Linked DNA regions of Homo sapiens: region 1 is linked to region 2. Evidence: promoter capture Hi-C in human tissues and cell types (Jung and others, 2019). All regions are on one chromosome and are shown on one strand. The core of a region is centred on a gene start or on the middle of the fragment in contact, and the rest is flanking DNA. Distances in the headings are between cores, read along the strand shown.

Evidence for each region. The method cuts DNA at HindIII sites, captures the fragments that hold promoters and counts their contacts. A contact is called where the count stands out against the background at its distance.
Region 1: a contact is called between a fragment that was not itself captured here and the fragment with the promoter of PDYN in region 2, in 1 of the 25 tissues and cell types used here (hippocampus).

The regions. Positions count from the first base shown.
Region 1 is chr20:2,042,502-2,048,322 of GRCh38, reverse strand. No RefSeq gene overlaps it. Among named protein-coding and RNA genes, the nearest start is that of PDYN, 51 kb to the right of the region's middle. The HindIII fragment of the contact is 3,633 bases long and covers 722-4,354 here.
Region 2 is chr20:1,991,234-1,996,915 of GRCh38, reverse strand. PDYN (prodynorphin) reads left to right here and starts at 2,858. Exons shown (of 4, transcript NM_024411.5): 1 at 2,858-3,005; 2 at 4,273-4,332. The region is part of intron 3 of PDYN-AS1 (PDYN antisense RNA 1); the gene reads right to left. RefSeq lists an enhancer at 2,488-3,318. The HindIII fragment of the contact is 29,966 bases long and covers 1-5,682 here.

The sequences.
Region 1 (5,821 bases), core at 1,289-3,788, 52 kb before region 2:
AAAACTGTTGTGCGGCCAAGGATACTATTAAGAAAGTGAAATGACAACCAACAGAATGAGGGAACATATTTACAAATCATGTAATTGATAAAAGCCTGGTATCAGAATATAGAAATAACTCTTGGCCAGGCGCAGTGGCTCACACCTGTAGTCCCAGCAGTTTGGGAGGCCGAGGTGGGTGGATCACCTGAGGTCAGGAGTTCAAGACCAGCCTGACCAACATAGTAAAACCCTATCTTTACTAAAAATACAAAATTAGCCAGGCATGGTGGCATGTGCCTGTAATCCCAGCTACTTGGGAAGCTGAGGCAGGAGAATTGCTTGAATCTAGGAGGCGAAGGTTGCAGGGAGCCGAGATCATGACATTGCACTCCAGCCTGGATAACAAGAGTGAAACTCTGTCTCAAAAACAAAAACAAAAACAAACAAACAACAACAACAAACAAACAAAAAACTTTTACCACTCAACAATAAAGAAACAATTTAAAAATGGGCAAAGTCGGTTGCTAAACATCATTAGACATTAGGGAGATTTTCAAATTTCAAAATTATAATGAGATATCACTTTACATTCACTAGGGTGGTTGTAATAAAAAAGACGGATGACAAGTGTTGAGCATGTGGAGAAATTGGAACCCTCACATATTGTTGGTGGAAATGTAAAATGATGCAGCCAGTTTGGAAAACTATCTGGCAATTCCTCAAAATGTTAAACAGAGAGTTGCCATGTGATCTAGCAATTATACTCCTGGGTATATACCCAAGAGAATTAAAAACATGTATCCACACAAAAATTTGTAGATGACTGGTCAAATGATTGAATGTTCCATCAAAAAGTGGAAGCAACCTAAATGTTCATCAACTGATGAATGAATAAACAAAATGTGGCATGCTCATAAAGGCCTATTATTCAGCCATTAAAATGAGTGAAATGCTAACATGTGCTGCAACATGGATAAACCTTGAAAACCTCATGTTAAGTGGAGGAAACCAGCCACAACAGCCCACATATTGTATGATTCTATTTATATAAAATGTCCAGCATAGTCAAATCTATAGCGACAAAAAGTAAATTAGTGGTTACCAAGAGAAGAGTGCAGGGAAAAATTAAAAGGTATGGTGTTATTTGGTGGGAAATGATGGAAATATTCTGGGATTAAATAGTAGTGACAGTTGCACATCATTGTGAATATACTAAAAACCACTGAATTGTACACTTAAAAACAAACAAAAAAATCCAAGCCAAACCAAAACAAAAAACCAAACGTACACGTATGACCCTAGTTTTCATGGGTTGGGAGTCTGGGCTTGGCTTAGCTGGGTTTCTTGCTCAGGCTCTCATCAGGTTGCAGTCCAGGTGTCTTCTAGGTTGTGGTCCTTTCTGGAGCTTGGAATCCCTTTCCAAGCTCATGTAGTTGGGAGCATAATTCAGTTCCCTGTGATTGTAGATCTGAGGTCCCCATTTTCTTGCTGGTTGTCAACTGCGGGTCACTCTCAGGTCCTAGAGGTCACTCATAGTACCTTGCCACGTGGCCCTGTCACAGGTCTTCTCATAGCCCTCCGCCCACGACATGGCAGCTTCTTAAAAGCCAGCACAGGACCCTCTGGCTTAAATCTGCGAAAATGGAGACTTATATCGCATAATATAATCATGGGAGTTACTATCTTATCACCTTTGCTGTATTCTATTGGCTAGAAGTAAGTCACAGGTTTCCCTACATTTAAGGGGGAAGTGATGATATACAAAGCCCTTACTTATTGGGGATCACCTTAGCATGTGTCACCACAGCTACTCGGCTTACATGTGCACCCTCTACACACATTTAGAGTCCCATATAATAAAACAATTCCTCTTCCCATCTAACAAGATATAACTATCCTCCTTACATTAGTAAGCAGTTCTCACCTTCTCCCCAAAATGAGGCACTGCACCATCCTGACAGTCATTATATCCATTGCTGGATATATTAATTGTCTTTCAATCTGTTATAGTACCACCGAATATTCTGTTATCTAAAGGCTAAATTATAAAATTAAGCTTCAAAAACTTGTATAATATAAAACAAAAATAAGAAGAAAAAGAATAAAGTAGTTAGCACATTCTTCTAACAAGCAAAGAGAGCATTTGCAGAGCTGCTACAGGCCTTGATTCTGTAATAGGTCATGAGGTCATAGCTGATATCCATGGCTTCCTTCTTCCGTTACCCACCCCTCAGACAAGGTCTTGCTCTGTTTCCCAGGCTGGAGTGCACAGTGGTGCAGTCACAGCTACCGCAGCCTTGACCTCCCAGACTCAAGCGATCTTCCACCTCAGCAACCCGAGTAGCTAGGACTACAAGCACATGCCACTCTACCTGGCTAATTTTTAATTTTTTTGTAGAGATTGGGCCTCACTATGTTGCCCAGACTGGTCTCAAACTCCTGAGCTCAAGCGATCCACCCATCTCAGCCTCCTAAAATGCTGGGATTACAGGTGTGAATCACCACGCCTAGCCTCTACTACCCAATTTGTGTTTCCTTTGCTCTCCAACAGAGCCTCAGTTAGTTGGGGTTCCTTATTTGATGGGGCAATCCAAACCTTCCTTCTCAAATGGCCTGAGTCCTCAATTATTCTGCCTTTTTTCGGGTTGCTATAGTTTTATCTTAATGTTTATTATTGGGCATGGACACACTAAGAGGCGATCCATAGAATCCACTGCATTCCAGGCATAGATCTTCTTGTCCCCACTTTGTGGCAGCCGCAATCCAGTTTTCTCTTGTTAATCAGGATCAATCATTCCAACCCACAGAATAACGCCCTTTTCTGCTTATTGATTCAGTGGCATAAAGAGTCCCAAAATGGCCAAGTGACAGCCTCACCTTCCAATTCAATGGAATCATTTTTGCATTCTCTGATTGAAGTATTTCCACCTGGGAAATAATCAAAGCTAGTATTTCTCATTGCCTTAGTCAAGTGAGTGTCTGCTGGGCTTTCTTATGAAGACAGTTGGCAGGTGAGTGGGCAGATTGCATGTGATACATCCAGGCAAAACTTCTGGTCTCCCTAAGCCTTTGAATTTCCTCCTCTGTGTAATTTTAGGGAAGTTCTGGCATCTCAATATCATTCAGTGTAAGTCACCATTGAGCCCAAGTTTTAGTCAACAACCAAGAAAGCAGTTAGAGACGCTTCCAGTAACATGAGGTCCATACAAGTTAGAGCTATCCTCCTTAAAAGTATGACATTCTCACGCTCTCCCCCAAATCCAGTCACTAGTAAGTTCACTTACATCAGTGAATTTGCTCACTATAGTGTTATAATCTACCCTACTTGGTCTAACACCTTTCAATTCCATACTCACACATGTTACCCAGGTTAATGCTGATATACATTAGCAAATTTTTGCAATTCTTTTGGTGTTTAAGCTATTTTCTCCAAGGTCATAATGTGTACCTGTCTCCCTGGAGCATACTGTTATTTGACCCTAGTTATAGGTCTAGTGGCAACAAAAGGTGGTCGTGGTGGGTTTGGAAAAGAATGACCATACCTTTTCAAGGTATTTGCCTCAGATGAGGTTGTCACAGGGCTATCAAGCAAAGAAATGCTAGTGTCCTAATACACCAGAGGGCAAGCTACTTCCACTGGTAAGAGAAGCTCACAGTGATTTTGGGATTCAAGATTATCAACTTCATCTAGGTCCAACCAGATGTCCCTGTTTCCAGTTTTATGATTCCATTTTTTTCCAATCAACTTTCATTTGAGCAACTTAGTAAGCTTGTGAATCTGACTGACACTATAATTCGGCAATCTACACAATTAAATTTTTGTTATCTTTTTCAGCAACATCAGCCTTGTATCTATAAGAAATAAAATATTCATTTAACCTCTCTGGTTTTCAGGTCATGATTTGAGCTGAGTTTGGCATTTTCTCCCTATAAGCATTCAAGTCCACTCAAAAGAATATATTCCACACTGCAGTCATTACAGTCATCATTACTGCTGTAACAATCAAGTGGAGCATCCTCCTGGGCTCCCTGGACACTTGCTTCGGTTGGTTGTAGCTTGTTTAATTGGCACTGCATGCAATGAATTGCTAGCATCCCATTTCCCATTGGTAAGAAGCTCATTACTGTGCTCAAGCCCAAGGGCATGACCAAACCAATGCCCAAGTCCCATCTTTACAGATCTATTTCCTGAGACGACTCCTATGTCAGCCAGAGTCTAGTCAGGGGATAAAAACTGTACAGTAATTTGAACAGAGAAAGTTTAATATGAACACGGTTAACTATAGGAGAGAATTGGCATAATAAGGGATTGGCTGGTAAGAAGTGAAGAACTGTAAAGAATGCAGGAATAGCAGGTATGAGGAGTACCCACTACTCTTAGGACTGAGATGGAGTGCTCGAGGACGATCCCCGAGCTCCACACTGTGATCCAGACCTTGTTGGAGAAGGCATGGCTGTGGCTCACTGACTAGTGGAGCAGTGTCCAAGCTACTGCCCCAGCGGGACTTGCTGAAATCTTCCCTCCTGCATCCCAATGAGGACCATCCATGCAGAGATGCTGTGCCTTGAAACTTGCTGGAAATCTGCCCAAAGGGGAGCCACCAGAGGCAGTTCACAGGGAGGTACCTCATCTGTGGCATTCCACTCTGAAGTCACCTAAGGAGTTTCTGGGGAAACCTGTTTGCATTTGGGTACTGCTGGCTGCTGCACCCTGTAGGGACTGGTGCCTGCCTTTTAGGAGTTGGAAGTTGAAGCCAAGACTGGACCCAGGTGCTGCAGAAGCCACATGCACTGCAGAAGCCAGACACTGGAGAAGCCACATGTGCTACTGGAGCTAGAACCTGCAAAAGCAGCCTGCACTTCCAGAACCAGGTGATGCATAAACCATAAAAGCCTGTGGAGAGAAGTGCACTGGGAAAAGGAAGAGAAACACCTTTCTCCTTCAGTGTCTCTTCTGTGTCCCCTCATGTCAAAGCTTAACATTGTGCTGCCTGGCAAAGGAAGAATCTTCACAAGGCCCAACTCTATTATTGCAGACCAGGCAATAAAGGGAGACTTTGGAGCTGAGAAGCAGTACGTTTGTAATTGGCACATGGAACAAACATTGTAAATTATCTAACACTGCATGTCCAGTATAACCACATGTGGCTACTCCAATTTACATTAATTAAAATTAAGTAAGTATGTAAAATTCCAGTCCTCAGTCATGCCAGCCACATTTCAAGTGCTCAATAGCCACATGTGGGTAGTGGTTGCTAGAGTAGAACATTGCAGCTGCAGGACATTTCCTCCATTGAAGAAATTTCTGTTGAACAGCCCTAACATCTCTTTGGTCATCTCTTTGCTTTGGCTGCTAGAAAGCTTGGACATAAATTTCATCTTCAGGTTAAGGATAAGGTACATCTCTAGCAAATGATAAGTCTATATTCTAACCCTTGGCCTCCTCTTACTTTCTCTTCATCTCAATTTCCTAATCTATTTATTTTATCCTGCTCTATTCCTTTCAGTAAACTTTTAAAATTTACATATGTTGCAGGATTAGGATGGCTAAAATAAACATCCTTCAAGTAGAATACCCTTATTTTTAAAGCCGGATGAATCCTTAGAGATCAACTTGTTCGTTTTTCAAATGAAGAAGTCAAAGCCTAGAAAGTGAAAATAAGCCACCCATAGTCTCAGAGTCAGAACCAGGATGATGACTCAGGTCTAATGACTCCCATTCCAGGTCTCACTGCACAGAATTCAATCTCTGGCTCCAAGATTTGAGGGTGACGTCACCTGAGGAAATAATTAGTCCTGAAATTTAACCCACGATTCATGGCTCTCTTCTGAGGTCCTA
Region 2 (5,682 bases), core at 1,609-4,108:
ACTGCTGCCCACAGGGCCAGCACCATGATTGGTGCATCACTGAGCCCAGGAGAGGGTGAGCTTTATGGCAAGGTTCTCCAGGACTAAGGGGGAAGGCTGCTCCTGGCCTTCTATGTGTGTGTGTGTGTGTGTGTGTGTGTGTGTGTGTGTAAAGGAGGCTGCGGAAGGAGAGGAAAGGCAAATGCAGGAACTATTTGCTCTTGAGGCAACAGTAGACTCAGGGGGTGAAGGATATCAGACATCAATGGCTTAATGAGGATTATCCATGAGTGTCTCTACTCTCACTGCCCCAACTTCCCTCTGGTGAATAACAGTCAGGAGAGGCCCCTGTCCTCTGCTCTTCCAGTGCTTGCTGACTTCCAGCCACGGGAGCCATTGTACTCCCTCTCTAAGAGTCTCTGTGTATTCGAAGGTTATTACCAAGAGCTTATAGAGGCAGAGGTTAGGAGGAGAAGGAGGAAATGAAAAATGAGGAAAGAGAGCAGTTGGAGTGAGGCTTTGGCCTTGGGGATGAAGTAGACGCTCACTCCTGGGCTCCCAGATTCCCAGGGTGGCAATGAATAGACTCCACTCATGTCCTCTGGCCACCATGCAAGAAGCCAGCCTGAGATGTGGCCAAGTGCTTGGTGACCCTGCGCACTGGCTATCACCAACTGGGCAGGGGCTTCCACATAGGGCACCAGGAGTCGCTTGCACCCGCCAGTCAGACCCCTTGTGCTGCCTCGGGAAGAGGAGACAGGGAGGAGAAGGAAAGTGAGGCTGTGGGTCCAGAGGGGAGTGTGGTGGGGCTGCAGCTTCAGGATCTGAGGGATGGGTCTCGGTTCTTCCTCCCTCCCTGGGTGGCTGGGGCCTCTCTGAACTTCTGCTGCCTTCTCCATCTGAGGACGCATTGTGAGATCCACACCACAGGTTTTCTTGTTGTGAGGATGTGATGGAATGTGGAAATGTCTGAGGCATAATAGGTGTTCAGCAAACAGCCCCTTCTACCCTCCTCCTTATGTGAGAGTTTAACGAGCCAGGTGCAGGGAGAGGAGGATGCCCAGGAGAACCTGCTGCATCAAAGCTGGAGGGATGTGGTTTATCAGGAATGATGGGAGCAGAACATCCGCTCCGTACTGGCTGCTTTAAGTGCTATTGACACATCCTCCTTTCACCCTCACAAGAGCCCAAGAGCCCCATGATACTGTTGTCCCCACTGTACAGATGAGCAATCAGAGGTTGAAGTTGGCAGCTTATCCAAGGTCTCTCCGATGGTGAGTGGCAGACCTGAGAGTCAAACTCACATCTTAAATGTCATTAAGCACAGCCTGTGTATGGAGAGGCTGAGTCCCAGAGAAGAAAACTGACCCCACCCCTCAGTGTGGGCAGATTCAAGCCTGGGGAGAGGCAAGGGAGGGGGCAGAAACTTGGAGGGTAGATGGACCTGACTTTAGGTTCTAGCTGGATGACTTACTTGCTGTGTGTCTCTAGGAACTTGGAGGGTAGATGGACCTGACTTTAGGTTCTAGCTGGATGACTTACTTGCTGTGTGTCTCTAGGAACTTGGAGGATAGATGGACCTGACTTTAGGTTCTAGCTGGATGACTTACTTGCTGTGTGTCTCTAGGAAAGTTTCTCAGCTCTCAAACCTCTGTTTTCTCATCTGCAAGATGGGGATAATATTAACCAACTGGCTAGGTCATGAGGATTAAATCTGACAACTCTACCTAACCGCCTGGTGCAGCCAGGTGCCCACAAAATGGGCGGCCCTGCCAGACTTCTGAAATAGTTGTGCCTCCCACCACAAACTGTCTGCTATTGACTGAGAAGAGAAGCATGTTCTCTTCCAAACTCAAAGACCCTTATGTTCTGGAAGATCTCTGTAGCAATGAAGAGTGCCACCTTCAAGCTGCTGCTGGTCCAGGCCAAGGGTATATTGAGGTGGGTCCATCCCTCACCCAGAGTGTGTGCTGAGGCATATTGCAGCCCATATTTTGAGGGGTTTTTCCTGCTATTCATTTTGTGTTGCCGCCAGAGAAAACTAAACTGCAGCTCCTGGCTGTCGGGGAAGAGCTGTGCTTCTGCCAGGGCTAGTGTGCCTGGCACCAGCTCAGGCATGTACCAGAGCCGAATGCCGTTTGCAGGCAAATGTACACACAAAAAGATTCCAGCACACGCGTGCACCAGCCAACACAGAGTTGCCACGGCACGCAACAGCGGGCCATGCACGTGCCTGCTGACTCGGCTGTCATCTTCCGACTCTCTTCCGTGATCAGAAGACTGTCTCAGCCTCTGTCTGTCTCCACGTCTGTCTGTCTGTGGATCAGTGTGTTTTGAGTCTGACAGTCTACCTGGCTGGTTTCCTTTTTTCTTGCTCTGTCCCTCTCTCCTTGTGTTTCTACCCATCTCCCTATCTCTGCCACTCTCTGTCTCTGTTTTTCTTTCTCTTTCTCCCCTCCTTTGTATCACTCCCTAGGTCCGACATTGCCTCTTTCTCGATTTCCGATTCTCTCTGAGTCTCTCTCTCTCTCTCTCTTTCTCTAACTCTTCTGTCTCTGTCCTTCCCTGTCTTCTTTTTCCTGTGACACTCTCCTGGAAACGCATCAAAAACTGAAGTGGCCGGATTTCAAGTGACAAACAGCACTACACCCAGAATCCGCCCCCTCCCCAACACGGCTGCCTTCCTCCTCCACATCCCTGTCACGAAGAGAAGCCTATTGTGTCAGGCCCAGGGAGTTCGAGTTGAAGGGCCTGGGGGTCTGTGCTCTGACTGCTCTCAGCCACTTCCCCATTGGCTCCCAGCAGCCTGTGCTCAGCAAGGGCTGAGCGACAGGGGAGGCTCTCGTCCATAAAAGGGGGGAAGAGGCACCAGAACTGCCATTTGAAGGGGCTTTGGTGGTGTTCACAGCTGCCTCTTTGGCACCTCCTCCCAAGCCGGAGTCAAGGAGGCCCCTGAGCCTTGGACCAGCCACTGCCACCTCCGACCTGCTCGGCCAGAAGCTGCCCAGGGACAAAGCAGAGTGCAGGTAACATCCAGAGGGGGCACTGGAATTCTATCGCTTGGTTTTATTTGCTTATTCCTGGTCCTCTGGACCTAGAGATGGTGGGAGCTCGGGCTGGGGATTTTAGGTTTGGGTCTGATTATCTAGCAAAGGTGGTTACAGTTAGGAGGCTAGTTCACAAAAGCCAGACCAGTGAGAGACTGCTCTTTGGACTCTCCCTTTCTGCACAGTCCTGGCTTAAACAGGTGGTAAGCTCTCTCCCAAGAGGACCACCCTTTGGCTTTAGCTCCAGGGTCTCCTTCTTGCAGTCTCCCACACAGCAGTTCCCATGCCATTCCCAGGGTCTGGGGAAAATGGGACACCCTGGATGGGAGAAGTGAGAGGTTTCACTAATCAGGGTGATTTTAAAGGTCAATGAGTCTCACTGGACTTAGAGAACAATGGCTTGAGGACATTAATGAGATCCAAGGCTCTGGCATTTATCACATAACATGTACATCAATGTACGGCCAGGTTCGGCCTTTTCATTCTTTTCGGATTGTGTTTAATTGCTGACAGGGTGCTGGTTTGAGCGGCTTCTTTTGATGGAATTTGATACAGGTTGAAGTTTGGGGATGTTTTGTTGGAAGGGAATGGGAAAAGGGAGTGACAACAAGCCAGGAGGCCCAGGCTTAGCAGGCATTTTCTTGTCCATTTTACTTGGAAAGGACTTGTTGCTCTCCTATTAACTACAGCCAGAGGAGTCTAAGGCCAGGAGGAGGCTCAAAGGGAAAGCCATTTGCTCACTGGTCCAGAGACCCATATTCAGAAAAGTACCAAGTCTCAAAGTTTGATTCTAGCAAAAAGCTGATGAGTTTCAGGAAAAAAAAAAAAAAAAAAAAAGCCTGCTGACTACTCCAAGGTTGAAGAGTAAATTCTGCAACTGCTTACTTTTTCCTGGGTATCAAGAATCCCTCCAAGCTCTACAAACATTACTTAATTAAGTCTCCAGTCTTCCCAGGGGAAACAAGCTCTTTCGATTATTGGATCTGATTTCAATTCCCCTCCCACAGACTGAAAGTCTTCATTATCATCTTTCTTCCAAGGGTTGCTGAAATATACAAGGCTTGCCTTTCTAATTTGACAGGCATCCCAGTCGAGATCCATTGCAAAGCATTGCAGAATGTCGATCCTCTTCTGTTCTTTCTCACCCCAGGCCTCACTCCCACCCCTCTGTGGCACCTTCCTTCTCTTTTCCCCTCCTCTTCTCCCCCCAGTCCCACCACACCTTGCCTTTGTTCTATTTTTGCAGGTCATTTATCTTCAGGCTTTGAGATCTGCGTGGGGGGAGCTGTTGCAGCAGCCCAAGCCGGTGAGTTATGCTGCCTGGGGGTGGTTTGCGTTCACTGACGGGATCTCAAGCCCACTGCTTTGCCCCAGCTGAGCTAGAGGTGTGATAGGTGGCAGGCAAACCCTATGCCTCTGTTGGCAGCTGGGAGGGGGATGTCACACTGGTTCCCAAGGCTATGTGGCGGAAGGCAGCACATTTTAAGGGAGCAGGCAAAGGGATCAGCTCTGGGGCTATTTGAGAGATTTGCGATCTTAAAACACGTGGAAGGAGTTAAGGTTTCTTGAAGTAACTCCTGGGAGGCAGGAATTTTCCATCTGTCATCTACACGTGTGTCTCACAACACCTGAAACAGTGCTGGGCTGAAATCCCAGATCCTACCACTCACTTACTGTGTGACTTTGGAACAGTAGAAGTCCCTCTCTGAGTCATACTTTCTTTACCTGTATGATGAGAATAATAATAATATTCACCTCCTAAGGTTATTGCAAGTCTCCAATGGGATATAGCAAAATGCCTGGCATTCAGTAGGTGCTCAATAAATACTGGCATGACTGCTCAGATTTTCACTGTTCCGAAGTGGTGAGGTTGGACCTTTCTCTCCATCGATTATCATATCGCTGATCATCCCACTCCATCATGCTGTGTGCTATGTCCAGGAGATATGATCTAATGTCTAATATTTTCATTTGAGGGGCTGGTGCTCCTTTCCCCTCCCCATCCCAGCAGAAGACTTTTTATTTCATCTGCTGCATCAGGATCATGAAGTCTCTTTTTGATCGATACTCCCTAAATCCACCTCCCACTACCCACCTCCTTGGGTCATTCCTGCACAATTGTCGTATTTATTAGATCTCTTCCATCATTGTAAGAGAGATCAATAGTTACTGGTTCGATTTCAATGCATGCCTGACAAAGTGTGGTTACACAGCTGATTTCTCTCACTGTATTCACTCATCTCAGCCCATGAATGTTGGCTAATCTTGCTGGGTCTGACAAAGTGATAAACCTGTTTCACTGAGACAGAGCTGGCCACTGTGGTAGGCAGTGAACATCGGCTGGAGACACCCAGGTAAGCCCCAGGATCAGACCCTCGAAATGGAGTGGGGTCTGTTAGTGCTGTGAAGCGCAGCCTCATCAGTCCCTCCCAGCCTGGATCCAGACTGATGCTCCTGGCAGGAGGACGATGGCCTAGGTCCATGAGGCACATGGCTTGGCTCAGGGGGCTCCTCCGAGTCCATCCAGGTCATCCCACTGGCCAGAGCGGCTGGCCACAAGCCGCAGACATATGCACCGAGGCAATTTGTTGATGCATTGGCTTGAACTGCCATTTGGTCCCTGTCCTATTCCTGGACGATTTGATTTAACTTGACA